4 separate regions of the Homo sapiens genome follow, and regions 2, 3 and 4 are each linked to region 1. Evidence: promoter capture Hi-C in 16 types of primary human blood cells and fetal thymus (Javierre and others, 2016). All regions are on one chromosome and are shown on one strand. The core of a region is centred on a gene start or on the middle of the fragment in contact, and the rest is flanking DNA. Distances in the headings are between cores, read along the strand shown. Region 1 holds the start of ASAP2 (ArfGAP with SH3 domain, ankyrin repeat and PH domain 2). Region 2 overlaps ASAP2 (ArfGAP with SH3 domain, ankyrin repeat and PH domain 2). Region 3 overlaps ASAP2 (ArfGAP with SH3 domain, ankyrin repeat and PH domain 2). Region 4 overlaps ITGB1BP1 (integrin subunit beta 1 binding protein 1).

What was found. The method cuts DNA at HindIII sites, captures the fragments that hold promoters and counts their contacts. A CHiCAGO score of 5 or more calls a contact.
Region 2: a fragment that was not itself captured here is called in contact with the fragment with the promoter of ASAP2 in region 1 in 5 of 17 cell types (endothelial precursors, megakaryocytes, M2 macrophages and 2 more); the score reaches 17.1 in endothelial precursors.
Region 3: a fragment that was not itself captured here is called in contact with the fragment with the promoter of ASAP2 in region 1 in 5 of 17 cell types (megakaryocytes, endothelial precursors, M2 macrophages and 2 more); the score reaches 32.4 in megakaryocytes.
Region 4: a fragment that was not itself captured here is called in contact with the fragment with the promoter of ASAP2 in region 1 in 5 of 17 cell types (M1 macrophages, M2 macrophages, endothelial precursors and 2 more); the score reaches 8.2 in M1 macrophages.

The regions. Positions count from the first base shown.
Region 1 is chr2:9,202,245-9,208,181 of GRCh38, forward strand. It overlaps ASAP2 (ArfGAP with SH3 domain, ankyrin repeat and PH domain 2), which reads left to right and starts at 4,568. Exons shown (of 28, transcript NM_003887.3): 1 at 4,568-4,986. The coding sequence starts at 4,861. RefSeq lists enhancers at 3,717-4,649, 4,650-5,580 and silencers at 4,098-4,357, 4,104-4,287. The HindIII fragment of the contact is 2,916 bases long and covers 2,857-5,772 here.
Region 2 is chr2:9,356,673-9,363,186 of GRCh38, forward strand. ASAP2 (ArfGAP with SH3 domain, ankyrin repeat and PH domain 2) reads left to right here. Exons shown (of 28, transcript NM_003887.3): 15 at 2,084-2,217. Among named protein-coding and RNA genes, the nearest start is that of ITGB1BP1, 64 kb to the right of the region's middle. RefSeq lists an enhancer at 1-381. The HindIII fragment of the contact is 4,155 bases long and covers 1-3,694 here.
Region 3 is chr2:9,333,294-9,339,890 of GRCh38, forward strand. ASAP2 (ArfGAP with SH3 domain, ankyrin repeat and PH domain 2) reads left to right here. Exons shown (of 28, transcript NM_003887.3): 8 at 1,445-1,520; 9 at 1,800-1,886. Among named protein-coding and RNA genes, the nearest start is that of ITGB1BP1, 87 kb to the right of the region's middle. The HindIII fragment of the contact is 6,119 bases long and covers 1,232-6,597 here.
Region 4 is chr2:9,414,344-9,420,194 of GRCh38, forward strand. It overlaps ITGB1BP1 (integrin subunit beta 1 binding protein 1), which reads right to left. Exons shown (of 7, transcript NM_004763.5): 2 at 4,283-4,389. The coding sequence starts at 4,354. Among named protein-coding and RNA genes, the nearest start is that of ITGB1BP1, 6.3 kb to the right of the region's middle. The HindIII fragment of the contact is 3,356 bases long and covers 2,554-5,851 here.

The DNA of each region.
Region 1 (5,937 bases), core at 3,318-5,817:
GAGGTCAGGAGATCGAGACCATCCTGGCTAACAAGGTGAAACCCCGTCTCTACTAAAAATACAAAAAATTAGCCGGGCGCGGTGGCGGCGCCTGTAGTCCCAGCTACTCGGGAGGCTGAGGCAGGAGAATGGCGTGAACCCGGGAAGCGGAGCTTGCAGTGAGCCGAGATTGCGCCACTGCAGTCCGCAGTCCGGCCTGGGCAACAGAGCGAGACTCCGTCTCAAAAAAAAAAAAAAAAAAAAAACAAATGAGTGTAGTTCCAACCTGAATTTAGTTGACTTTTTTGTTTATGTTAATAAGACAAAACTGAAACAGTGAAGATGCATGCTATAACTTTATTCATCTGTCAATGACATGAGTGACCTTTTTACTCAATCATGTACTAGTTTGTAAATATTAGAAGGGTATTTCCTCAAAAATTTCATTATTTACAATGCGATGGCTGTAGACCTGACACACCTTTAAGTCTAATCCGCATGAATGATACTTTCTCTATAACTGCATTAAGTTTATTAAGTTAGACAATCAACAAAACAATAAATCAGGCCTTGATTTTTATCATTTGCCAATTTTCCTGCTGTAAATACTCTACCATGGACAATCTCAAACTACCAGAACATGGAGTTGGGAAGAGATGTTCACTAGCACACCATGATATAATATTTCTACCATAGAGAAGAGATACAACCAACTTGCAAAATTCCTGAAAATTGAAGAATCAGGTCTCTGGAGCCAGCACAAGTGACTCCCGTATATGACTGATCATATTTAATTTACCTATTACTCTCTTTCCAGTTCAGCAATGAGTGTGTCATCTATTCAAACTGCTTTGTTAAAATAAAAAAATGAACAGGCCTCAAGTTATCTGTAAAGTTAGCAATGAATAAATCTGCTTGTTATCTAAATCTACCATCTTAACAAAATGACCACTTTCTCAAAAATTTAGCTCCCAATGGCATCTAAAACATGCCTCATTCTCAAAAGTCTAGGACAATAATTAGAGTCTCAGTACTAATGTTTAGCAATGCTTTGTGGCATTTTTCTCTCTTGTGTCTAAACTAACATAAAACACAGAAAATGGCAGCACGAACACCAGGACACCAGGACGGGGAGGCGCCTTAGAAATTAGCTAGTCCAAGCTACACTCTTTAGGGAGGCTAGCTTTATTTCTTTTTCTTTTTTTTTTTTTTTGAGACAGAGTCTCGCTCTGTCGCCCAGGTTGGAGTGCAGTGGCCGGATCTCAGCTCACTGCAAGCTCCGCCTCCTGGGTTTAGGCCATTCTCCTGCCTCAGCCTCCTGAGTAGCTGGGACTACAGGTGCCCACCACCAAGCCCGGCTAATTTTTTGGATTTTTAGTAGAGACGGGGTTTCACCGTGTTAGCCAGGATGGTCTCGATCTCCTGACCTCGTGATCCGCCCGCCTCGGCCTCCCAAAGTGCTGGGATTACAGGAGTGAGCCACTGCGCCCGGCCTAGGGAGGCTAGCTTACTTATCACAGAGAAGCAATTTATTACCAAAACCCAAGTTTTCATTTGTAAAATAGTTTCTGGGTGCTAAAGTGAGATAACTGTGGTAAATGTACTCAATCTTCTCTCACTTTGGGGATAAATGGGTCCCTTCAGCAACACGATTTTGGGCAGAGTATTATTAAGTTACGAAAAGAAACTTTCAGTTATACTTCCATGTTCACATCACCAGGGTTTTTAGGTTGTTGTTACTATTTCTTACCATAGTTCTTTCAAAGCACATATTTGCCCATTCCAAGAGTAATCATTTACAAGTTAATAGCAAGTGAACTGGACAAGTCTTGTGTAAACCAGCCAACCCTCAAGCAAATTTCAGAGTCAAGAACATATTTTACACCTTGATCTGAGAGTGATAAATCCCAGGTTCTTGTGAACTACTAGAGGCAGAAGATTCCTTTGGAAAATGGGCTGTTGGCCAATCTCACTGGGCCGCTAAAAATTTCATTTTTGGGAGGAGAGTCTCTTCTCTGGAAACGATGTCTTTAACATCACGTTTTCGTTCTCTCCTTTTCCTCTTCCTTTCCTTCTCCTTCTTCCTTCCTCCTTTTTCTTCGCCTTTTTTTTTAAAAAAAAATAATACAGGCCTACAATCTCTTACTGAAACCCCAAGGGCCAGATATGTGTGGATTCAGAAATTTTCGGATTTTAGAAAGGTAACACATTGCATATAATAACATATTCCTAATTACCCCCAGTAGGGTCTGGGGCAATACTTCATAATCAACCATGTTTATATTTTGCAGCAAAACATACATATTCACATGAGGTAGGATAAACAAGACCACACATAGCCTCACATCAGTTCATTTCAGATGAATTTTACTATTAAGAACTATTTGTAAAGCTACATTTTCAGGGATTTTTAGTAATTCTGGTTAAGGAAGTATAGGCCTGTAAGGACATTACCAGCATACTCTTCTTCTCTTGATGCATTTAAAAAAATGAGTATGTGTAGAGTGTTTCCTTGATCCATGTTGAACTTTAATTTTATTGTTATTTATTGGAAGCTACTCATTCTTATATTAATCTCAGAAAGGCATTAGCTATGTTTTGCTCTGGTCTTGCTTTAATTCTAGGCTTATGCAGTAGGCAAGTTAGATTTCTAAGGGATGATGGAGGAATAAATGGCTCTAGCATTCTACCAATTTGGTATCCTCTTTAGGCCACCAATGAACTTGGTAACTAATTGTTGTTTTCCACCAGCCTTGCAATGCAACACAGCTTTGCAATTTTATTTTTTTGAGGCTACTAAAGCTTCCTGTATCTGCAAAATTAAACTAAAAGAAACAAGAACCGGAGTTGTATATAAAGAGAGAACAGAGAATACCAAGCTTAACTTTGTCCTTGTAGAAGTATTGATTAGTCTGGTTAATGCTGTACTAGACATCAAGGAAAAACCCGACTTTCTTTCTTAGATCCCTCATAGCCTCATAGAGACCAGCCCTCTACAAATCAAGACTTGAAAAGTTATTCAGCATATTCCCTCATGTCAAAAACTGTAGCTGGGAAACTAGGTAGGCGGGAACAGAATCTGCCTGGTGTTGGAGAGGATGTATTAATATAAATAATAAACACAAAACATGAATTGTAGAAGGTTGCAAATAGAGGAAAACTTCAGACACCAAAAGGATCAAAAAACATAAAAAGAAACAGATACAATTTTTAAATTGTAACTTGTTGTCTAGTGCAATGATAAAAGCTATCCACGAATACAGCGATTTTAGAAAGTTAAATTTTACATGCAGTGCTACTAAAATACCAAAGGCCATACATAATGTCTGACCCAAGCTGCCACCTCATATAGCAACTTCTTACATGGGGGCTTTAAAAAGATTGTTTGACTGGTCTACTGTCCTGCAGTGTCAGGAGACGGCTTTGTCTGACATATTGAATTTCCAGTGTCTCTCACACTTCCTCCTTTTCAGATGCACAAAAGGTTTTTGTAAAGTTTCTCTTGGTTTTACCGCTGGCAGCTACAGAAACCATGCCACAAGTCTGGTGTAGAGTTATAGGGTGTGATTTTATTTGACTGGTATCTTCAGAGCTTCTGGATTTTTCAGTATAACCGAGAATTTCCTTAAGAGCTGTAAATAAAAATCGGTACCAGTTCGAACCCTTTACTGGCCCGGTTTTGTGTGAGGTTGGCTGGCTGCTGTAGCACGTTCTCCCCCTCCTCCTCCTCCTGCACCCCCTCGGTTCCCTCCTCTGCCTGCGGGAATACCACTTCAGGGCGTTCAGCAGCCTTCCCAGGGTGGGTCCTGGCCTAGTACCCTAAAACTATAACCGAGAATACCTATCATTGGGCAGCCTAGGAAACGCGACTGGGACTTTTAGTAGGGGCCCCTCACCGCTCTGAAGCACTCACACTTGAGTCAGGGAACATGGGTTTGAATCCCCACCCGGCCGTTTATCTTGTGCTCTTGGGCACACTGTGTCCCCTATATAAAATAAGCACCCATCTCTTCATCTGTCTCCTAGGCCTGCGACGATGCAATGACTGCACGCAAAGCGCACATTCACGGTCAGGTCACTTCTGGCGTCCGGCTGTGGTCCCCGCAGGGTGCCCGCCGGCGGAGCGCATCCTCCGGCAGGGGGCGAGCTCCGCACCCCGCTTTCCTCATGGGCCGGCGCGGCCCGCCGTTCAAGTGGGGAGCCCAGAGGTGCTCCGCGCCGTGGGCGGGGGGCGGTTGGCGCGCACAAGGCCGGACTCCGGCGGGGCGCACCTCCACACGCACCCTCGCGGGCAGCGGGTCGGAGTCGGGGCCTCGGGCCGGCTGGGGGCGGGGCATGGGCGCGGCGCGCGGGGCCCGGAACGCCGAGACAATGCGGCGCGCGGCGGCCAGGAACGGCTCGGCGGGCCGGGGCGCGCGCCGCCTTCCTTCCTGCGGGATCCGCTTCCCGGCGGCGCGGCAGCGGCGAGCGCGCCGATTGGCGGCCCGGTCCTCCCGCCGCCCCGCCCCACGCCCGGCCGGCCGCCGCCCCCGGCCCGGACCCGCCCCTCTCCGCGGGAGGCGTCGGGGCCCGCGGCTGGGTGGCGGGTAGTTCCCGCCGGCTGTGCGCGCCCGCCTCGGGGCTCGCTCTGAGAGGACGCGGCGGCAGCGGACTCGGAGCCCTCGGCGCGCAGGCGGGCGGACCGGCCGAGCTGCGCGGGGCTGCGCGCCGCCCCTGCTCCGCCGCCAGGCCCCGCGCGGCTCCCGCGCCCGGCGCTCCCCTTTGTCCGCGGGCCGGAGCGGCGGCGGCAGCGGCGGTGTCCGAGCGGCGGTCGGAGCCTGCTGCGGCAGTTGAGGCGGCGGCGCCCCTGCGGCTGTGCGCCAGCGCCCTCGCGCCGAGGCGATGCCGGACCAGATCTCCGTGTCGGAATTCGTGGCCGAGACCCATGAGGACTACAAGGCGCCCACGGCCTCCAGCTTCACCACCCGCACGGCGCAGTGCCGGAACACTGTGGCGGCCATCGAGGAGGTGAGGCGGCCTGCGCGGCGGCTCCGGCCGCAGGTATCCCGCGCCCCAGCCCCGCCCGCCGCTCCCGCATCCGCATCCCGAGAAAACTTTCTTTGCTCCGAAGCCGGACGCGGCCGGGCCAACCCTGCCCGAGACAGAAGCCCTTTGTTCCCGCCTAGGTGGCTCGGAGGAGATGGGTGATGGCCACCTTGGGCCTCTTTAAGACCTCCCCTCTCTCGGCCTCGTGGCCCTCGCGGGGTTCCGCGGCCTGGTCTTTTCCCCGCAGCGCGGCCAACTTTGTCCAGAGTCGGGGTCCGCGGCGAGCGGGGGATCCCGCTGCCCGCCGCCGCCCGCCGCCGCCCGGGGTCTTTGGTACCCGGTGCGGACCTTATCAACTTGTTCTTGAAGTGGACCGGCGGGGGCAGCTCCGCGCTCCGAGCTCCCCGCCGCAGCCCCCGAGCGCCGCAGGGCCCCCACCCTCGGGTCCGCGGGTCCGGGGCATCCCGGGCTGCCCGGGAAGGCGTGCCCGCCTCAGCCAGGGCGGCCTGGCTGCGCTCCACCCGTGCCCGGAGAAGGAACTGCGGGCAAGGTGTGTGAGAGTCGGCGCTTCTGGGTCCAAGAAGCCTCCAGGAGCCGCTCCCCGGTTACCTGGGTCTCACCTGCTTGAACCCGGAATGCCGCCCTTCCCCCTCAACCTGGAAAAGGCCTGGTTTTAGTAAAGTGCTCTCAAGGTGCAAAGTCATCACGCCTAGCTGCTAAGCAGTACGCTCTCCAGGTCCTGGGGAGAGGAACACGTAGGAACGAAGAAGCTTGGTTGAAAATTAAAGCCGTGGGGAAAGGGGCAGAGTCTGTGAGTCCAGGGGCCACCGTTGGCTGTGGTTTGAGGCACATCCTCACCTGCAGTCCTCCTTTTCCTTACCCATCAAACGGGATTAGTAATGCATCCTTTCCAGGATCAGAGACTGTGTGAAG
Region 2 (6,514 bases), core at 367-2,866, 150 kb after region 1:
ATGTGGATGGGCTTCCTTGCTTGGAATCTGCTCTCTTCTCCCTTTATCCTACTTTGCAGAACTTCTGAAGTAGCTTTAAGCCGCTGTCTGGCTCTGTGACCCTGGGAGAGCCACTTGCTTTGTTAAACATCGATTTTCCTGTCTGTAAAGTGAAGGGACAGGACCCTTTCAGCTGACACATTCTGTGAAATAAGATTTTATTTTTACATTTTGATAAAGCATATTAGGGGCTTTATAGTAGGATGTGATTTAAGGAATTTGCTTATTCTAATTGAGACACAATGGTGGGGAGTGGGGGTCGGGGACTACACAGGTGCATTTTCTGAACATTTATAAAATGAAAAAGATGGAGGCTTGGCTAGAATGGTTAATCCCCTTTTCATTCCTCTAATTCTATGACAATTTTTCTTAAAAAACCAAACACAACCAAAATAAGAGTGGACAGTTGAGAATTACCTTTAGGTTCCCATGACCCTGAAGACTGTATTTGGCCTTGGATCCATTAAAAAAAAAAAAAGAATACCGACTGGGTGCAGTGACTCATGCCTGTAATCCCGGCACTTTGGAAGACTGAGGCGGGCGGATCACTTGAGGTCAGGAGTTCAAGACCAGCCTGGCCAACATGGTGAAAACTCGTCTCTATTAAAAATACCATAATTAGCCCGGCGTGGTAGTGCGCACATGTAGTCCCAGCTACATAGGAGGCTGAGGCAGGAGAATCACTCGAATCCAGGTGGCAGAGGTTGCAGTGAGCTGAGATCACGCCACTGCACTCCAGCCTGGGCAACAGAACGAGACTGTATTTAAAACAAACAAACAAAAAACCCGAAAATACGTTTTTGGCAGGAGATGAGGTAGGGGGTGATAAGTAGTGAATCATGGTCTTTCTTGAGAAAGGGTAAAGACAGTCTATGATTTGGGTGTTTCATACGCTTTGATAAAGAACTCAAAGGTATGTACTCATTATTTTAAAATGCCAAGACAGTGTGGGTAATATAAAAATGATGTAGAGTCACCTAAATGGATGCTTGTACCTCCGCAAAGCACAAATACAGTGGAGTCGTCCTACACAAGTGCAGACACAGACGCCAAGAAGGTTTTCCAACATGGATAACATTTTTAATAACTTGAACATTTAAAAAATAACTTCATGATTTCCTACTGACTAAAGTTGCGATATTTACCTGCCGTGAGTTTCTCAGGGCAACAAACAGTTCTGAAGAGAATTGTATTTATGGGTTGTGATGATGTACTCAAGGACATCTTATTTTTAATTTCCCATTTTTAGCAAATTCCACATTCATCTGTCAAGCATTTTGTGGGTCCCTATCATCTGCTAAATGTATGGTAGGTCATGTTAGTGAGTAGCCGAGCTGTGAGGGGAAAACGTGGCTTTGAACTCAGGTAGAGGCAGGGCCACAGTCTGCTCTGCACTCCCTGGCGACCTCGAGCCTGAGCATCGCAAAGCTGTCTCTGCCATATAGTGAGATAAAAATCCCTGCCCTGGTCATCTCATGGAACTCTTAGATTTGATACAAAAGTGCTCTGTGATTGCTGAAGCTCTTAACAACACAAACTGTTATTGCTACTACCAGCATGCTGAACACAGCATATCTTATGTACATAGTACGTTCTCTGTTATTATCAGCATCTGTAGATGCATATGTTTTAAGCCTATTCCCCTTTTACAAGTAGACTTTGGCTGGTCTCATTGTTTTCCTCTTGCTCCATTCTGCTAGTGTGACCAAGTTGGTGATGGGCATGGTGTGTTTTCACCACCAGCCATTGAGGAGCCCTTGGTCACTGGAGTGTGTCCTGTTTATTTTTGCACACACAGCACCTGTCACATGAATGGAAGGATGGGGAGATGGAGAGAGAGGGAAGAAGAGGGAGAGTAGATGTGTGCATATTTGGGTATTGCATGTAAATTGGTGGTAATTATGGACAAAGTTTCCAGCTGTGTTAAGGATCAGAAAATGCTCATGCTCAGAACTGCTTGTTCAGTAACTATGCAGGAAGAAAGATGTGACTCCTGACCCTCTTTTTTACTGGAAGCTCAAATCTGCCCTGTTCTCTTTGGCAGATCCTACATGGCTTTCCACCAACCTGGGCATCCTGACCTGCATCGAGTGTTCCGGAATCCACCGAGAGCTGGGGGTTCATTATTCCAGGATGCAGTCCCTGACCTTAGATGTACTGGGAACATCTGAGCTGCTGGTAATTTTTAAATCCTTGATTTCAGATTGGAAACAAATGAGCTGTAAGCTAAATTTTACTTTTGGCATTCTAATCCATTTTGGTAAGCTAGTGGTTGTTGATATGTTGCCAGATTGGTTTGGATAATTAGAAACTCATTGATAATTCTTCATTTTTAGCTACTTGTGGTTGAGGGCACTTCTTGTTGCAAAACTTTATTCTTAAATGAATAAAGGGGAGTGAAACCAAAACAGGAGCATTGAGAGTGGTGTGAGATTCTACAGAAATGGAGTAAGATGGTGACATAGACCAGCTCACCCCATCCATTAGACAGATGTGGAATGCAACGTCTAAAGACAGGAAAGTACTTGTTTTCCCTTATCACCAGCGATTTCTGACAAGGCTGTGGTGACAACTTGCCTCAAGCCTCCGACTTCTCCCTACCCCAGATTGTCCCCCATGGGGGGAGATATTGGTCTTCATTTTTACTGCCTTTGTTTCTTAAGTCTTTCATTCTTGGTTCAGTGGTAACACTTAAGCCATGTGATAGAGATAGGAGGAGACAGAAGCATTTTCTGTGAAGTGGCTTTCAAGAGTATCGAGACTGTAGTCCCACAAGGTCCATCAGACAGGGTGCTTCTGGCCACCTAATACATGAGCTTTCATGACTGTCTTCCCTAGAAAGCAGTTCTTGAATTCTCTCCTGGGATAGCTGGATGTTGACAGTAAACAGTAAGTAGATAGTGATTGGCATTGATTTTAATGTTGAATTTAAAAGTTTACATGTAGGGAATTTAACGTCAAGAGCAATAGTCTTGACAGAAAATCAATAGTTGTGGACCATGTTCCTCTCAAGGGGCCATCAGTCTTATTGATGACTTCGAATCCAGTGTGTCTGAACTTCGAATGCATTTTGAACTCTCTTGTCAAACCTTTCCAGTCTTTCTAGGAATTCCTTTATGGTCTTGAAAGACAGAGTTGGGAGAAACTACAGTGGATCCTGGCAGCCTAGTTAGTAACATCCTTAGTTACTTACAGTTTAAAACTAAGCTAGACTCACTTAAAATGTAAAACTAAGGAACTCCAAACAGTGCCTTCCTGGTTACATACAGCAATTATTGTTCATGTAATAATGCACGTAACCTACAGCTTAGAGAGGTGCACAGGTGTACATGTGGTATCTCTTGGATAACTGATGATGGCATAGATTGGAGGTTGTCATGGTACATTTTCAAAGAAGCACAAAGTACTTTTCAGTAAACACTGGTGAACTATGGCAGTTGTTTCTTTTACTGATTTTCTTAAAACAATGGAAAGTGTTAAGTGATTCAAGATGATGTAATAATTGTTTATTTTGTACTATGTATTTTGCAGGCCACTTTATATATACTAGGCTCATTTGATCTCCAGTAACAACCTGATGACCTTGGTATATTATCCCCATTTTACAGAGGAGGAAACTGAGGCTTAGAATGTTTCAGTATGCCTAGGGTTATGAAGCTTTTAAGGTGACAGATCTGGGGTGTGGGCCTCTTTAATCTGATACCAGACCTCACACTTAAACCTTTGACGAGCCTGGGACACAAATTGGCATTTTAGTGGGTTGTCTTGCTAGATGATAAACATTTAAACATCTCTACTGTCCTTCCCTATCACCGTCCCCAACAAATGTTTAACAGTCAACTCTGGAGAAAAAAGAACCCTGGTTTGCAACCTGCCTGTTCTCATGGTGTAAATACTCCCACAATGGCCAATTTCAAGCTACCTAAGTGAATTACTCAATGTGAAGTTGGAAAAAGATGTTCATTATATAGTACATTCACTATGCAAACACAGTGGATGTAAATAACTTCATGAACATGGACAATAGTAAAATGCAGTATAATTAGGAAGTGATGAGTTTTGAGTATATACTTGTTATTAATGTAACATAATTATGAGTTTATATAGCATAATTTTTAATAGTAGCAGTGCTTAACAGTTGGCTTGCAAAATTCCTGAAATTTTAACAGTTGACTCATATGAGCTGGTAGGAGCCCGACCCCACCATCTGTTATAATTTTTTAAATGTGTCTCAGAAATTTCATGTTCTTCATGAGACTGAGTTGCCTACTAAAGAAGAAAATGCCAAAGAAAGGTGAAAGGAATATGTTGTTCTGTCTTGATGAAACGATGAGGTGACTTCTAATGCCTGGTTAAATTCTCCATTTCTGTCTCCCAGAGCCTCCATCTGCATTCTTGTAGGAGTTTAAAGTTTGGTTGGCTGTCACCCACAATGAGAAATCAGCCAGTGCCTGCTTAATCAATGTCTGCAGATATTTTCAAAATCTAATTGCTTCCAGAGTTTTAAACTCTCCCTTACCCAAGTCTTTTTTCCTCAGTGGTTATCAGGAAAAGTAGAGACAGCAGTGAATTGTGTAGGATTTACTCCCTTCAACCCTGCTTTCCCTGAGCTCTGGCTGGTCCTCTGTGGTTCACAGGAGGTGGACATCTCCCCACGGCTCCCCCAATCCATTTTTTGTATGCTAGGAGTGTGGTCATGGTGTCGTGGCTCTAAACCTTATTCCTTAGCCCTTCAGTTAAGCAGTACGTAGGGTGTCAGGTGTTAGTATTCATTGGCAAAGCTTGGAAATTTCAAGGCTTCTTTCTTTCTTTTCTTTTCTTTTTTCTTTCTTTCTTTCCTTCCTTTCTTTTCTTTTCCTTTTCCTTTTCTTTTTTTGACAGGGTCTCACTCCATGACCCAGGCTGGAGTCCAGTAGCACAATCTTAGCTCACTGCAACCTCTGCCTCCTGGGTTCAAGCAATCCTCCCACCTCAGCCTCCTCAGTAGCTGAGACTACAGGCAAGTGCTACCACGCCTGGCTAAGTTTTGCATTTTTGGTAGAGATGGTCTTTCGCCATGTCCAGGCTGGTCTCGAACTCCTGGACCCAAGTGATCCTCCTGCTTTGGCCTCCCAAAATGCTGGGATTACAGGTGTGAGCCACTGCGCTTGGCCTCAAGCCTTTTAAAAGTATCCAGATTGTTTTATTTTGCTTAGACAATCAGGTACTGGGATGAAGGATTTCCTGAAGTCTTTTTACCTCTTTATCTTATCTCTTTCTCTGCGTGTGTGTGTGTGTGTGTGTGTGTGTGTGTGTGTGTGTATTTAGAATTATGTCTGACACACCGTTAAGAACCATAAAGTATTAGTTATCATTGTTATCTCCTTTAACAAAATCCTTTCAGAAAAATGGTCCCCATGTGCTAGCATGTGAACCCCCAGGGAGGCCATGCATGGTCTGTCTGGTTGTCTGTTCTTACGAACCTTTCCAATTCAGAGTTGCATGCCATGCAGGGCCTCGGCTGACTTGCTTATTGAAGTATGTTTTATTGTATAGTGAGTGTTCATTAGGCCCCTTGGTGCCTTGTGAAAGGAGAGTGGTGGGTGCAGCCTGGACAGGTTCTCTCACAGGAGTAGCATCTCTCCTCTTTTGGGTAAATAGAACAGCCTCTGTTTCAGGGTGACATGCTGTGACAGCAAAGGATTTTATTTTTTTAATTAATTTTTTATTGCATGTATTTATAGTGTACAACATGATGTTTTAGTATGTTGTATACATTGGGTGTGACTAAATCAAGCTAGTTAACATATCTGTCACCTCACATGCTTATGTTTTGTGGTGAGAACACTTAAAATCTACTCTCTTGAGCCTGGTGTGGTGGCCGGCGCCTGTAATCCCAGTACTTTGGGAGGCTGAGGTGAGAAGATTGTTTGAGTCTGGGAGTTCAAGACCAGCCTGACCAACATAGGGAGACCTCCATCTCTACAAATAATTTTTTAAAACTAGCTGGGAGTGGTGGCAAGTACCTGTGGTCCCAGCTACTTGGGAGGCTGAGGCAGGAGGATCACCTGAGCACCCAGGAAGTTGAGGCTACAGTGAACTGTGATCTTGCCACTGCACTCCAGCCTGGGCAACAGAGTGAGACTGTCTCAAAACAAAATTTTTAAGTATACAGTACGTTATTATTAAGTAGAGTCACTGTGTTGTACACTAGATCCCTAGACTTTATTCATCCTAACTGAAATTTTGCATGCTTTGACCAACATGCCCACCCCCAACCCCTGGTAACCATAGTTCTGCTCTCTACTTCTATGAGTTCAGCTTTTTTAGATTTTGCATATAAATGAGATCTTGCAGGATTTGTCTTTCTTTGCCTGGCTTATTTCACTTAGTATAATGTCCTTCAGGTTCATCCATGTTGTCACAAATGACAGAATGTCCTTTTTTTCAGGTCGAATAGTATTCCATTATGTATATATACCACATTTTTAAAATC
Region 3 (6,597 bases), core at 3,041-5,540, 130 kb after region 1:
GGTACTTTGTGTCTCCTAGAACTTCATATCTAATGAGGGAATTCTGTTTTAAACAATCACACTAATGAATACATAATTGCAGTTACAGCAAGTGTTTTGAAGCAAAATACAAAATGCTCTGAGAAAGTATAAGAAGGCCTCTTATAGGGGAATAACTTGTAGGGGATTATGGAAGGCCTCACTAACCGGGGATGTTTAACCTAAAACTTGAAGAATGAGTGGGAATCAGCCAGGTGAAGCAGACACACCTTAGGAGAAGGCTTTAGAGAGAAGAAACAGAATGCAGAGGGCCAGGGGCAGGAGAACTTGGTGGTCATGGAGGAAGGGAGAAAAGGCCGGTATGTCTGGAACTGAGTGAATGAAGAGGGTGGAATGGTGTGGATTGAGGCTGGAGCTGCATCAGGCCTCATTACAGGTTAGAACTTTCTCCTTAGCTCGTGGAAATGCCCGTTCTTCATTCCTCTCAAAAGGGTTACACACAGCACCCTCCAGAGGCAGCACTGAACACCAGCCCATGGCTCCAGCAGAAAAACTTGTCCAGCCTCTGTTGTATTTCCTGAATCACTTGTTATAGGTGACCTCACAGCATTGAGTTCTCAGCCTTAAAATAAAAAATTCCTCTTGATATTTGATCTCAAGTTCTCTACCCACGGTTTCCTACCCCGCAGACACAGTGTGGCCACCAAAGCTGCTTGGTTGGTTCTTTTCTGCATTATTTCTCTCTCTCTCTGTCTCTGTCTTTCTCCTTTTTTTTTTTTTTTTTTTTTTTTTTGGGAGACAGTCTCACTCTGTCGCCAGGCCAGAATGCAGTGGCATGATCTCGGCTCACTGCAACCTCCACCTCCTGGGTTCAAACAATTCTTGTGCCTCAGCCTCCCGAGTAGTAGCTTTTTGTATTTTTGTATTTGTTTTTTTTTTTTTTGTATTTTTAATAGAGTATTTTTAGGGGTTTTGCTATGTTGGCCAGCTGGTCTGGAACTCCTGGTCTCTAGTGATCCTCCCACCTTGGCCTCCCCAAGTCCCTCACCCTGGGATTATAGGCATGAGCCACAGCACCCGGCCTCTGCATTCCTTTTCTTTTCCATGTCGCGGTCGCCTGTTGCGGCACATTCTTCAGTGTCTTCCACTTGCGCCCCATGGCCTTTCTGGCTTCAGATGCAGAACCTCTCCCGTTATAAACTGAAACTCAAGGCCTCATTTTATATGGGTCGAGAAAAATCTCAAATACTTAAGCTTATTGCATTTCCTTTTCTGTTCGCTCCTGCTAATTTTGAGTGTCATTTTATTCTTGGTTTGCCTGATATTTTAAGGTTCTGTTCATACAGTCTTTTCCCCCAGGAGTTACATAATGACTTCAGTCACTTTAAAGAAGTTTTTAATCTGTCTGACAAAATTATTTTTTCCTTTGTGAAATGTCATCTCTGTTTCTTCTTTTTCCTGCTAGTTTTTTTCAGGATGGACTCAAAGCCGTGGAAAGCCTCAAACCTTCCATTGAAACGCTGTCTACGGATCTTCACACGGTGAGTAGCTTCCCTCCCACTGTGGTTTAAAACCATCTTAATGCAACAGACATTTTCATCTAAATGTCACTTCTGTGTAATCCTGTGTTTTCATGCCGTGCCGCCCACGTGGAGTGTGGCGTTCCCACGCCTGTCCTCTGTCTTGGTGGGAGGGAAGGTTTGACCAGCGAGGGAGGCAGTTGTCGCATTGTGTGGAAATGGCCCCATGAGCACCAACGTTTCACTGTACCTCAGTCTTAATTTTCTGATTGGTTCTGTTGTGTGTGTGTGTTTTTAAAGATCAAACAGGCCCAGGATGAAGAAAGAAGGCAGTTGATACAGCTTCGAGATATTTTGAAATCCGCATTGCAGGTTGAACAGAAAGAGGTGAGGGGATTTAATTTTGAAAGATTGCAGTTTTCACCCCATTCTTGGAGGCTTTGGGTCTGAAGAACATGAAGTTCATGTCTTCTAGGAGCTCACAGTTCACTCGGGCTGTGTCAGGCACCAGTAAAACATTTAATGTATTCTTGCAATTTAGTTCTATAAAACCATCTTTTAAAATATGTTTATTTCAGGAGGAAGCATTTACTACATGCATGGCCTTAATGGCGGTGTATAAACCCTGTGCTCTGTCAGTTGCTAGATAAGGAGCTCTCAGTGGCTTCGTCACAGAGACCATGTGTCATTTGTGCTATTTATCCTGTACCTGGCCCTGTGTCATTTCCCTACCCTGACATACGTGGACTCTGCCCCTTTAGGCCTAGGCACGTAGCAGGGGACCAGCTGGGGCTCTGCCAGCCCTGAGATTGTGTTCTATAAAATATGAGGCATGAGCTTTTCTTACAGCTGCCTCCATCATGACAGGCAGAAATCCTTAGTTCTCTTACTTCCCCTCTTTCTGTAATGACGTCTCTGTGTGCTAACACGTCAGCAGGGACAGTTTGTGTTGTGGGGACTTGTTTTTAAAAAGCCATTAAAAAGTAAGTTTTAAAGATAATTTTACTATATTTTCACTACAATGTGGGTATCATAATGTGAATTTAGTATAAATCCATTTCCTTGTTAATAAAAGGAATGTATCTAAACATATATCTAGTGATTTTAGAGAAATTGCTAAACTACTTGACAGCATAAAGTTCCCTGTTGGCAGTTTGGTGAGCTCTATTTTATTGTAAGTTCTTGTACTATAACTGAATATTGTTGTTTTTCTCCCAAATGCGTTTACCTTTTGTGACCGAAGTCTAGGAGAGTAAGTAGTTCAGTATTTTAATAAATTGCAGAATTTTGCATGTTTTATTCGTGAACATACATATATATATTCCTTTTATATATTAATGGTTAGTAGCATTTTTTATTTTAACCCCTCACCTTTCATTGTTGTAGACTTTATTAAAGGCTGAAGAGTTTGCATAAATATTAGGGAAGTGGACATTTTCTGGGTTTACAGTTTACACTTTTGCTGCTGTTCCTTTATGAAGATGAAGCAGGTCCCTCCCTCCCTCCCTTTCTCTCCCCTGAGTGGCTGAATTCTACACATCTCTCTAGTCCCTCTGAAGCCCCACCTCTGGAGCGCTGCCTCTGATCACCCCAGCCCACAGTGATCTGAGTTCACAGAGCACATCCTGTTTGAATGCCCCATTTGAATCACAGCCTATTCCTCTTTTTGAGTGTTGGTTGTGCCTTAAGTGCACAGATGGCTTTTCACCAGCTGGACCTCGAGCAGCCTGAGGATGCCACCCTGCCTTCTGAGCCATTCTTCCATCACACTGTAGTGCCACAGCGCTCATTTAGTAGGATTTTGGTAAACATGGGTCAACTAAGTGAGACACTGGCAGAGCAAGGTTATATTTAGTGCTAGAAAGGACCTACAACATGGTGACTTCCTCCTAGTCTAGAGAATGTAGGCCCTGACGCTTTGATATTCCCAATAAGCAAAAAAAGGAAAAAAAACTTGGCGTAAGGAGAAAATAGTGGGCTAGCGGTAACGAGGAGGAGGTAGTGCGAGGGCAGGAGCCAGAATGCCGTCCAAGGTGGCTGCTCCCCAGCGCACCGTTGGAAATGATCGAGAACTGCCTTTGTCTAAGAAGGAAGATCCAACCCATGAAGCAAAGCTCAGGTTTAAAATAAGGCAGAGCAGCTGCTGGGGCCAAATGGCCCTCTGGGCACAGTGCAAAGGCTGTGTTTGCTTTGCCTGTGCAGAATTAGGAGGTTTGGGAAAACGGGCTGTTGTGAGAGAACTGGTTATTTACAGCTTCGCAGGAAAGTAATAACAAATTTACCAGCACAGACCAGAAGTTCTTTATAGTTTGTTGTTTTTTGTTAACCAGCCCATCTGCCCCTGATTGCACAGAGGGATCAAATGAACCTCCTTTACTATTCTTCTTTGGCTGTCTGCCCAGTTGGCTCCTTGTCAAGACCTAACTCAACAGTCTCCTAGTTGTGGGCGTGTTGTGTTTTCTGTGTATCATGCTCTGCGTTGCTTTTAGGTGATGGCATTCAGCAAGTTGGACAATCTTTGAACACAGTTGCAAGTAATAAGCAGATGTGAAAATGCTAAATTTTCTGTTTTAAAATGATTTTTATGATGGGGGTTCCATCTTGTATACCTCAAATTTGCAATAAGAATTGATCATTTGGTCATTATTGTTTAGGCCGTCATTCCCTTTGGTTGGATTTTCTTCTGTGACTTAGACAACTGAAGGTGTTAAGAGGATTTTTATTCAGTGTTATAAAAATTCTAACCCTCCCTGTGTAATAACAGTTGATAGAAATTAAGTAACATGCCCCAAAGAAACTGCCTTGATGGTTGGTAGAAGCCAGTGCTCCTCATTCTCTTCCTGTAAATCCCAAGCATCAGTTATTGAAGGAATGAAGAGTGGCCATTCCAGTGTGGTAGCTTCGTGCTGCTGTTTCCTTGTGACCCTGCAGCTTTGTTTTAGTGTGGAGCTTGTGCCGTTCTGGTCCCGGTGACCTCACACCTCCCAATCACTGGCCATTCATGTTTTGTTCTTGATATTTTCTGCTCTCTGTAAGGAGAATACTACTCTTTGGTATTTCCATTATTTTTCTTTGTGAAGGTTTTCATACTTGGAGAAAAGTTGAAAAATTGTGCAGTGACCACCCATAGTGCAATATTATACAATGAGGATCGAACTATGTACCATAGTGTTTGATTTTTGGAGAAGATCCTATTTACACAGTTAAACTCGTTGGCACTGCTCATCTTTGGTTGAGCTCTCTCCCCGTCAGCCTCGCCTCCTGCCTTCCCCATCCCACGTCGTCCATCCGATGGTGTTCTGCCAGGATGGACCCTGTTGGGGTGCTGGCGGAGTCCCAAAGCCTCATCACTTGTGTGCAGGCTCTCTCTGCTGTTTGATGTGGAGAACCCAGACTTGTGTGCTTCTATGGGGAGGATCAGGCTCTGGGGCATGGTCTCACAGGTCTGAGTGCTGAAACCACCATGGTTTTCCACTCTGCAGATCTCAAGTATGGTTGCTCTCTCTCTCTCTCTCTGTCTGTCTGTGTCTGTCTATCTCTCTCTGTCTGTCTCTATCTCTCTCTCTCTCTCTTTCTCTTGCTCCCTCTTTTTCAAGCATCCTGTCTAGTAGGATGTGATAGAACAGTTTGTGCCACCCAGGCAGCCAAGGTCCACCACAGCCATAATTTTCTTCTGCCTCTGGGTTCGCGTATCTTACATGCCCAAATCTGGCCTTCATCACAGAGATCTCTGCCAGGGGCCACCTGCCTGCCTCTCCTGCCAAGCTGCTAGGTAGCCTGGCTCTGGCCTCCATGTCACCCTCAGTGGAGGACTCGTTTGTTGATTCACACATCCAGCTACCCTTTCTTCCACTGTTACCCTAAGCCAGCACTCCACAAACACAACAGAACAAGATGGATCAGGTTATCATCTCTTCAGGGGATCATGCTCTGGGGGTGGGGACAGAGAAGCAATTGGGGTGCAGTGTAATGAGAGCACTCGTGGACATCAGCTCCAGGAAGCAGTGTCTGCCCAGTGCGGGCTGGGCAGGTGCCATCAGGGATGACTTCCCAAAGGCTGTGATACCTGGGATGGAGCTTAGAAGGATGATTAGGAGTTGGCAGGCCAGGCATGGTGGCTCACAGCTATAGTCCCAGCACTTTGGGAGGCCAAGGCAGGTGGATTGCTTGAGTCCAGGAGTTCAAGACCATCCTGGCCAACATAGTGAGATTCCATCTCTACCAAAAGTCAAAAAAATTGGCCAGTTGTAGTGACATGCACGTGTAGTCCCAGCTACCCGGGAGGCTGAGGTGAGAGGATCCCTTGAGCCTGGGAGGTGGAGGTTGCAGTGAGCCAAAATCGCACTGCTGCACTCCAGCCTGGGCAGCAGAGCATGACCTCATCTCCAAAACAAAAACAAAAAACTGGGGACGGGGCAGGAGTTAGCAGAGTCCCAGCAGGTGAGGCTGGTGGAGAGGACAGCTTCTGACTAGGACGGGGTTGCCTGGGGAGCTGTCTAGCAGAGCAGAAGAGCATGGATCTTGGCATTTGAATCCTGGGTCTCCCACTTCCTACCCTGCCCTGTGACACTGGGCAGGTTCCTGGACCTCTCCATGTCATGGTCTCCCCGTCTGTCAAATAGGAATAATACAGCCAACCTCAGAGTTTTCAGGAGATCTAAGAGATAATTTCTGTAGAGCACTTACCATATTATCTTAATAATAGTAAAATTATTTATTAATAATCTTAATAAATATTAATAAACTATCTTAATAGTTCATTCAACAAATACTGAGCTCCTAGGTGGTAAAGATACCGTAGTGACCAAATTCCCTTCCCTCATGGTGTCGCGCTCTTAGAGGTTCAACAGGAATGGATACTGCTGCTGTCGTTGTGTGTGACATATCCCTTAGCCTCCTTGTTGGTCCGTCCTCTGGCCCTATGTCTTCATGGCTCTTGCCCCTCTTCCTTCTTCACTATCTGACTCAAGATGCTGTCATACCCAGCTCTAGGCTTCTCCTCTTACTCCTGACCCAGGCCTTCCAGCCTCACCTGCCTCTCACCCACCTCTCTGTGTCCAGCCTGCGTCACATTCCACATTCACTCTAGGGGAGGAGG
Region 4 (5,851 bases), core at 2,982-5,481, 210 kb after region 1:
GAGTTGAGCTGACACATACAAAACCATGTCAATTATTCAGGCATATCGACTGTGCAGATTTTTCTTAAGACAAATTCTGTAACAAACTTCAAAAAAAAAACCACATAATCCCAACTGTTCGTTCGTCCCATGACATAATATCGGATAAATGCGGTGGCAATATTCTTAGTCGATTTAAATCGAAGCCATTACCGCCACCTCCTTACAAGATGCCTTCTATGAATATTCTTGCGAACATCTCTGCCTTGCTTTCACATGAGTTCCACTGAACCCAAAACAAACCCTGTGCAGAAAGCCAGGCAAGGACCATGATCCCCGCTTACTAAATGAGGAAGGAGACTGAGACTTTAGTGACTTATCCAAGGTCACATCTAGTAAATGGCTCCAATCTCAAACCTAGGTCTCTAATTCTAGGTCTCTGGTCCAGTGCTTCTGCAATTATTCTGACTAGTGTCTGGCCTGCAGCAGGAATTCAGAGGCTAACTGGCAGGACAGAGCAGACTATCATGTGAACTGCCACCAAAAAAACAACAAAACTGTTGAGCAAAATAGAATCACATGTAAAGGGAGTTGTTCCTCAGAGCTACACTCCCAATTTCTTTAGAAATAATAGTCTCTGGCCGGGCACAGTGGCTGACACCTGTAATCTCAGTACTTTGGGAGGCTGAGGCGGGTGGATCACCTGAGGACAGGAGTTCGAAACCAGCCTGGCCAACATGGTGAAACCCCGTCTCTACTTAAAAAAAAAAATATGGCTGGGTGTGGTGGCTCACGCCTGTAATCCCAGCACTTTGGGAGGCTGACGTGGGTGGATCACCTGAGGTCAGGAGTTCGAGACCAGCCTGGCCAACATGGTAAAACCCCGTCTCTACCAAAAATACAAAAATTAGCTGGGCATGGTGGCGGGCACTTATAATCCTAGCTACTCGGGAGGCTGAGGCAGGAGAATAGCTTGAACCCAGGAGGTGGAGGTTGCAGTGAGCCAAGATCACGCCACTGCACTCCAGCCTGGGCAACAAGAGTGAAACTCCATCTCAAAACAAACAAACAAAAACACACACACAAAAAAAAACACAACAATACAAAAATTAGCCAGGCTTGGTGGCACATGCCTGTAGTCCCAGCTATTTGGCAGGCTGAGGCAGGAGAATCGCTTGAACCCACAGGCAGAGGTTGCAGTAAGCCGAGATCACACCACTGCACTCCAGCCTGGGCGACAGAGTGAGGCTCCGTCTCCAAAAATAAAAATAAAACAAGACATTGGGCCACACAGATGAGATTTCCCTGTAGGGTCCCCACGCTTAAGGCTGAGGAAGTGGCAGTAGGGAGGTTCTGTGTTGAGCAGCTCCAGGAGTTCAAAAACTTCCAAGAACATGGTTCGTTTCCCCATTCTAAGGCTGCACAGGACTCCTACAATGTCAGCTTTCTGTGCTTCTGGTTACAAGGCCACCAGCTCAGCTGAGATAAGCCAGCTTACCCTGCCCTGACTGGAAACTGAGTGGCAGTCGTGTGTCTTTGTCTCATTCACATGTGGCTGTTATTTAACAGCGTGGCACATGTGGCACATGGGAGGCCCGGCAGGCACCCGGGATGAAAGGTCTAGGGAGGCATCTCCTGAGGGGGCCTTGTGCGACCCTGCGAGACGCCTCCTTCTGTGCTGTGCCTCACCCCGGTCCTGGGACTGAGTGAACACACAACTTTAAAATTAGAGCATTCGCAAGGGTGGAAAATCATGAAAAGGCTGTTGAGTCACGGCATCCCATCCCATCCCACTCACTCACTCATTGACCCGACTCAGCCTCCAGCTTCCTGCCTGTGCCTGGGATGTCTAACCCCCTTCCTCATTTATGCCTATTTGACCCGTATATTTTAAGGTCTCATTCACTACCTGCTTTTTTTTGGGAAGACTTCTGTGATGGTTAATTTTATATATCAACTTCTCTGGGCTAAGTACCCAGATACTTGGTCAAATACAAGTCTAGACATTGCCGTGAAGGTGTTTCTTTAAATGAGATTAACGTCTACACCAGCAGACATGGAGTACAGCAGAGGACCCTCCACCGTGTGGGCGGGCCTCATCCAAGCAGGTGAAGGCCTTAAAGGAAAATGACTCAGGCTCCCAAGGAGAAGAGTCTGCCTCCAGCTGCCTCCAGGCTGCCTTTGGGCTCAAGCTGCCACTCCCACTCCCACTCCCAGGGGTCTTCAGCCCGCCCTGCAGATTGCAGACTTGCAGCCCCCACAGTCACATCAGCCAATTCTTCAAAATAAACCTTGAAAATACATCAAAATCTCTAGGATATAAACACATCCTACTGGTTCTCTGGAGAACTCCAACTAATACGACTTCCTCCACAACTTTAGGCCTACAACCTCCCCAGTCTCTGAATCCCTCAAGCAGTATCTGTCATTACCTCACGCACCTTCATGTTTTCTGAATTATTCACTGTCTCTGGGTGTCAATCATGTCTCAAATGGTATCTGGCATCCAGGTAGAAACACCTGGAATGAATCACTTTTTCTGCCTCCCACAGCACCTGGTATGTTAAGGGTTTAAGCTTCGATAACTCTCTTTTCCTCATACTCCACAAGCCATCATCATCGATCCATGGGTCCCATGAGTGCCACCTCAAACTCTCTGCAGAACCTGAGGTTTCAGCGCTTCCTTCACACCCCGTCCAAGCCCCCATCATCTCTCAGGTTCTTACCACATCCTCCCCGGCAGTCTCTCTGCTCCTGCCCTTTCCCTGCTCACAGTGGCCAAAGTGACCCCCAACAAAACTTATATAATATTCTGTCACTCCCTGGCCCCAGGCGCCCCCTGCTTTACTCTCAGAGTAAAAGCCCAGGTCTTCACAACACCTGCACCTGCCTCGCCCAGGCCACGCTGGTCTCCCTGCTGTCCCCCAAACACACAGGCTCACTCCTCCCATGGGCCTTTGCTCTCTCCTCTCCCTAAACTGCGATCCTTCCAGATCTTATCATGGCCCCACTTCTCCTGTAGGCCCCTGCTCAAATGCCACCAAGAAAACAAGGCCTTTTCTCGGGAGGAGGGGCAGAAAAAAATAAATAAGACCTTTTCTTTTCTTTTTTTTTTGAGACGGAATCTTGCTCTGTCACCCAGGCTGGAGTCCAGTGGTGTGATCTCAGCTCACTGCAACCTTCGACTCCTGGTTCAAGCAACTCTCCTGTCTCAGCCTCCCAAGTAGCTGGGACTACAGGTGTGTGCCACCACACCAGGCTAATTTTTGTATTTTTAGCAGAGATGGGGTTTCACCATGTTGGCCAGGTTGGTCTCAAACTCCTGACCTCAGGTGATCTGCCTGCCTTGGCCTCCCAAAGTGCTGGGATTACAGGCATGAGCCACCGTGCCCGGCCTGAAAATAAGACCTTTTCTACCAGACTGTTGAATACTGCCCCTCTCCCAATCTCCCACCCCCTCCATTCCTGTAGTTTCTTCCCCCCGTGTTAGTTTCCACCATCTGAAACTCTATATTTTACTTATTTATTCATTATTTTCTCCCCCAACTGAAATGGAAGCTCTGAGGCCAGGAATTTCTTCCCTCTCCCTAACTGCTCTATTTTATGCCCCTTAAACAGAGTTTGGCACACAGCCATGCTCAACAAATACTCGGTGAATGAATGAGTGTTCACGTGCCATTGTCCAGGAGGTAGAAATAAAATTGCCATTCTTCTAAACACCAACAAAATTGGTGTCAAAAACCTAGAACAAATATAATGCAGCTATCTTTATACTCTTATATTGAAAAATTATCTGTCAGTCAAAATGAAATCACTTTATTACTTGAGACAAAAGTTGCCAGTTGAATAGCTCCTCAACGGTTTGTTTTGCATGAATTAAATCCACGCTTACCTTCCAACAGCATTCAAAAACTCTCTGGTATACAGCTATCTGCCAATCTCACTCTTAAGTAAAAGTAATTATGCACACCACAAACCCTAGAATTCAAGAGGCCCAGCCCCTTAATGCCTGCAATTTCTATCATTTAAAAATTTTTTAAATCAGTGCTTATTTCAACGAAACCATTCATAGGTCATGTCCCATCTAGTTTAATGGATTTAAGAATTTCAGAAAACCTACCAGAACAGACAAAATGAAGCCAAGCATAGAATGCATCTCTAGTGCAAAAAGTAAATGTTAAAACACACTAGTTTGAAGATTATCAGGAGATCTGCCCACGGTCAGTATCCTCCATACAATATCAGCTAGAAGAAACAAAACTCTCCCTGCTTTATGATTCTGTTCCAAATTCCATTTCCCTACCTTGCTCTTAGTACTGATTTCGCTACTTTGGGAACTGCTACTACTGTGTCGTTTTTTGCCCTTGCGAAACATTTTTCACCACCATTGCTTGATCCAGAGAAGATCCCCTGAAAAAACAAATATTGGTAACAGTTACATCGGGAAAAGCAACTTTTTTTTTTTTTTTTTTAAGAGACAGAGTCTTGCTCTTACCCAGGCTGGAGTGCAGTGGCACAAACATGGCTCTGCAGTCTTGACCTCACACCTCAGCCTCCCCGAGTAGCTGGGACTACAGGCATGTGCCACTACACCCAGCTAATTTCATTTTTTGTAGAGACAGGATCTTGCCATGTTGGCCAGGCTGGTCTCAAACTCCTGCTCTCAGGCGATCCTCCCGCCTTGGCCTCCCAAAGTGCTGGGATTACAGCTGTGAGCCACCATGCCCAGCCAGGAAAAGCAACTTTGATATTGGTTACAGTTACATCAGGAAATGCAACATTAAATCACTTTATGCAAAATAGAAATAAAAATCATCAATTAACTTTTCCCTTGGATACTATTCCTTTTCATTCTTTCCTATTAAATTATAGAAAGTTAACCCAATAAGCAAAAAAGGCAGAAACCTTCTTGTCCTACAGGTGTGAAAAGCACTTTTCTCAAAATTTTCAGACACGTCACCTAGTTCTCAAAATTTTAAGGGCCTTACTTCTCTTCAATTGAGTCAAGATTTTAGCAAAATATACTATGACACATTGGCTTTTCAGTCGAGATACTAAGATTCAGTAACCCTCTCAGTTTCACATTCTATACTTGGTAGGGCTAAGATATACACACCTCTCAGAAATGTGCATTTTTCTTGAAGTTTTGAAATACCTTTAAGTAAAAGCTGACACAAAGACATTCCCAGGTGCCAGCACCTCACCTCCCCTCTCTATTAAGCGTAGTTAAGGAGATGACCTTGCCTCCCAGAGTCTGTGTTACATATTTCTTTTTTTGAAATTAATAATAATAAATGCATTGGAAACTAAGATTCATCCTTGCCAGTTGCATAAGGACAGCATATACTATACTTGGCAAATTAACTAACCTACATGAAGCTGCACAGCTCACAGAACTCCCGGGACAGTTCTACTGTCATAGCCTCATGATAACCTTGTGACATATCCATTTGCTCTACTGATGCTTTTTAAGGGCATACCATATGCCACACACTCTGCAGGGCTCTAAGCTCTCCCTCAAGGGGCTCACAGAAGGTGGGCTGTAATCTGCCTTTTACAGATGAGGGAACTGTGACCTGCCTCTCAAGACGATTTATGAATAAGATAACCTGATCAATTTTTTACCAAAAACTGTATTCTCCAGAGAGAACAAGAAAATCTGCTTACTATAGAATTGAACACTATTTGACTGTCTTCAAAGGTCCCACATACAGCGGTCTGCACAGAGAGTTTCCTTTCATTCTGACCTGGGTGATGCTTTTCAGAGAAACTACGCACCTGATGAAGGAAAAAGAACGAGCAACTCACGCAGCAGTCAGTGAAAGCTCCTGCTGCAACCCAAAGATTCTCCGTATTTGGAGACCCCACTCTA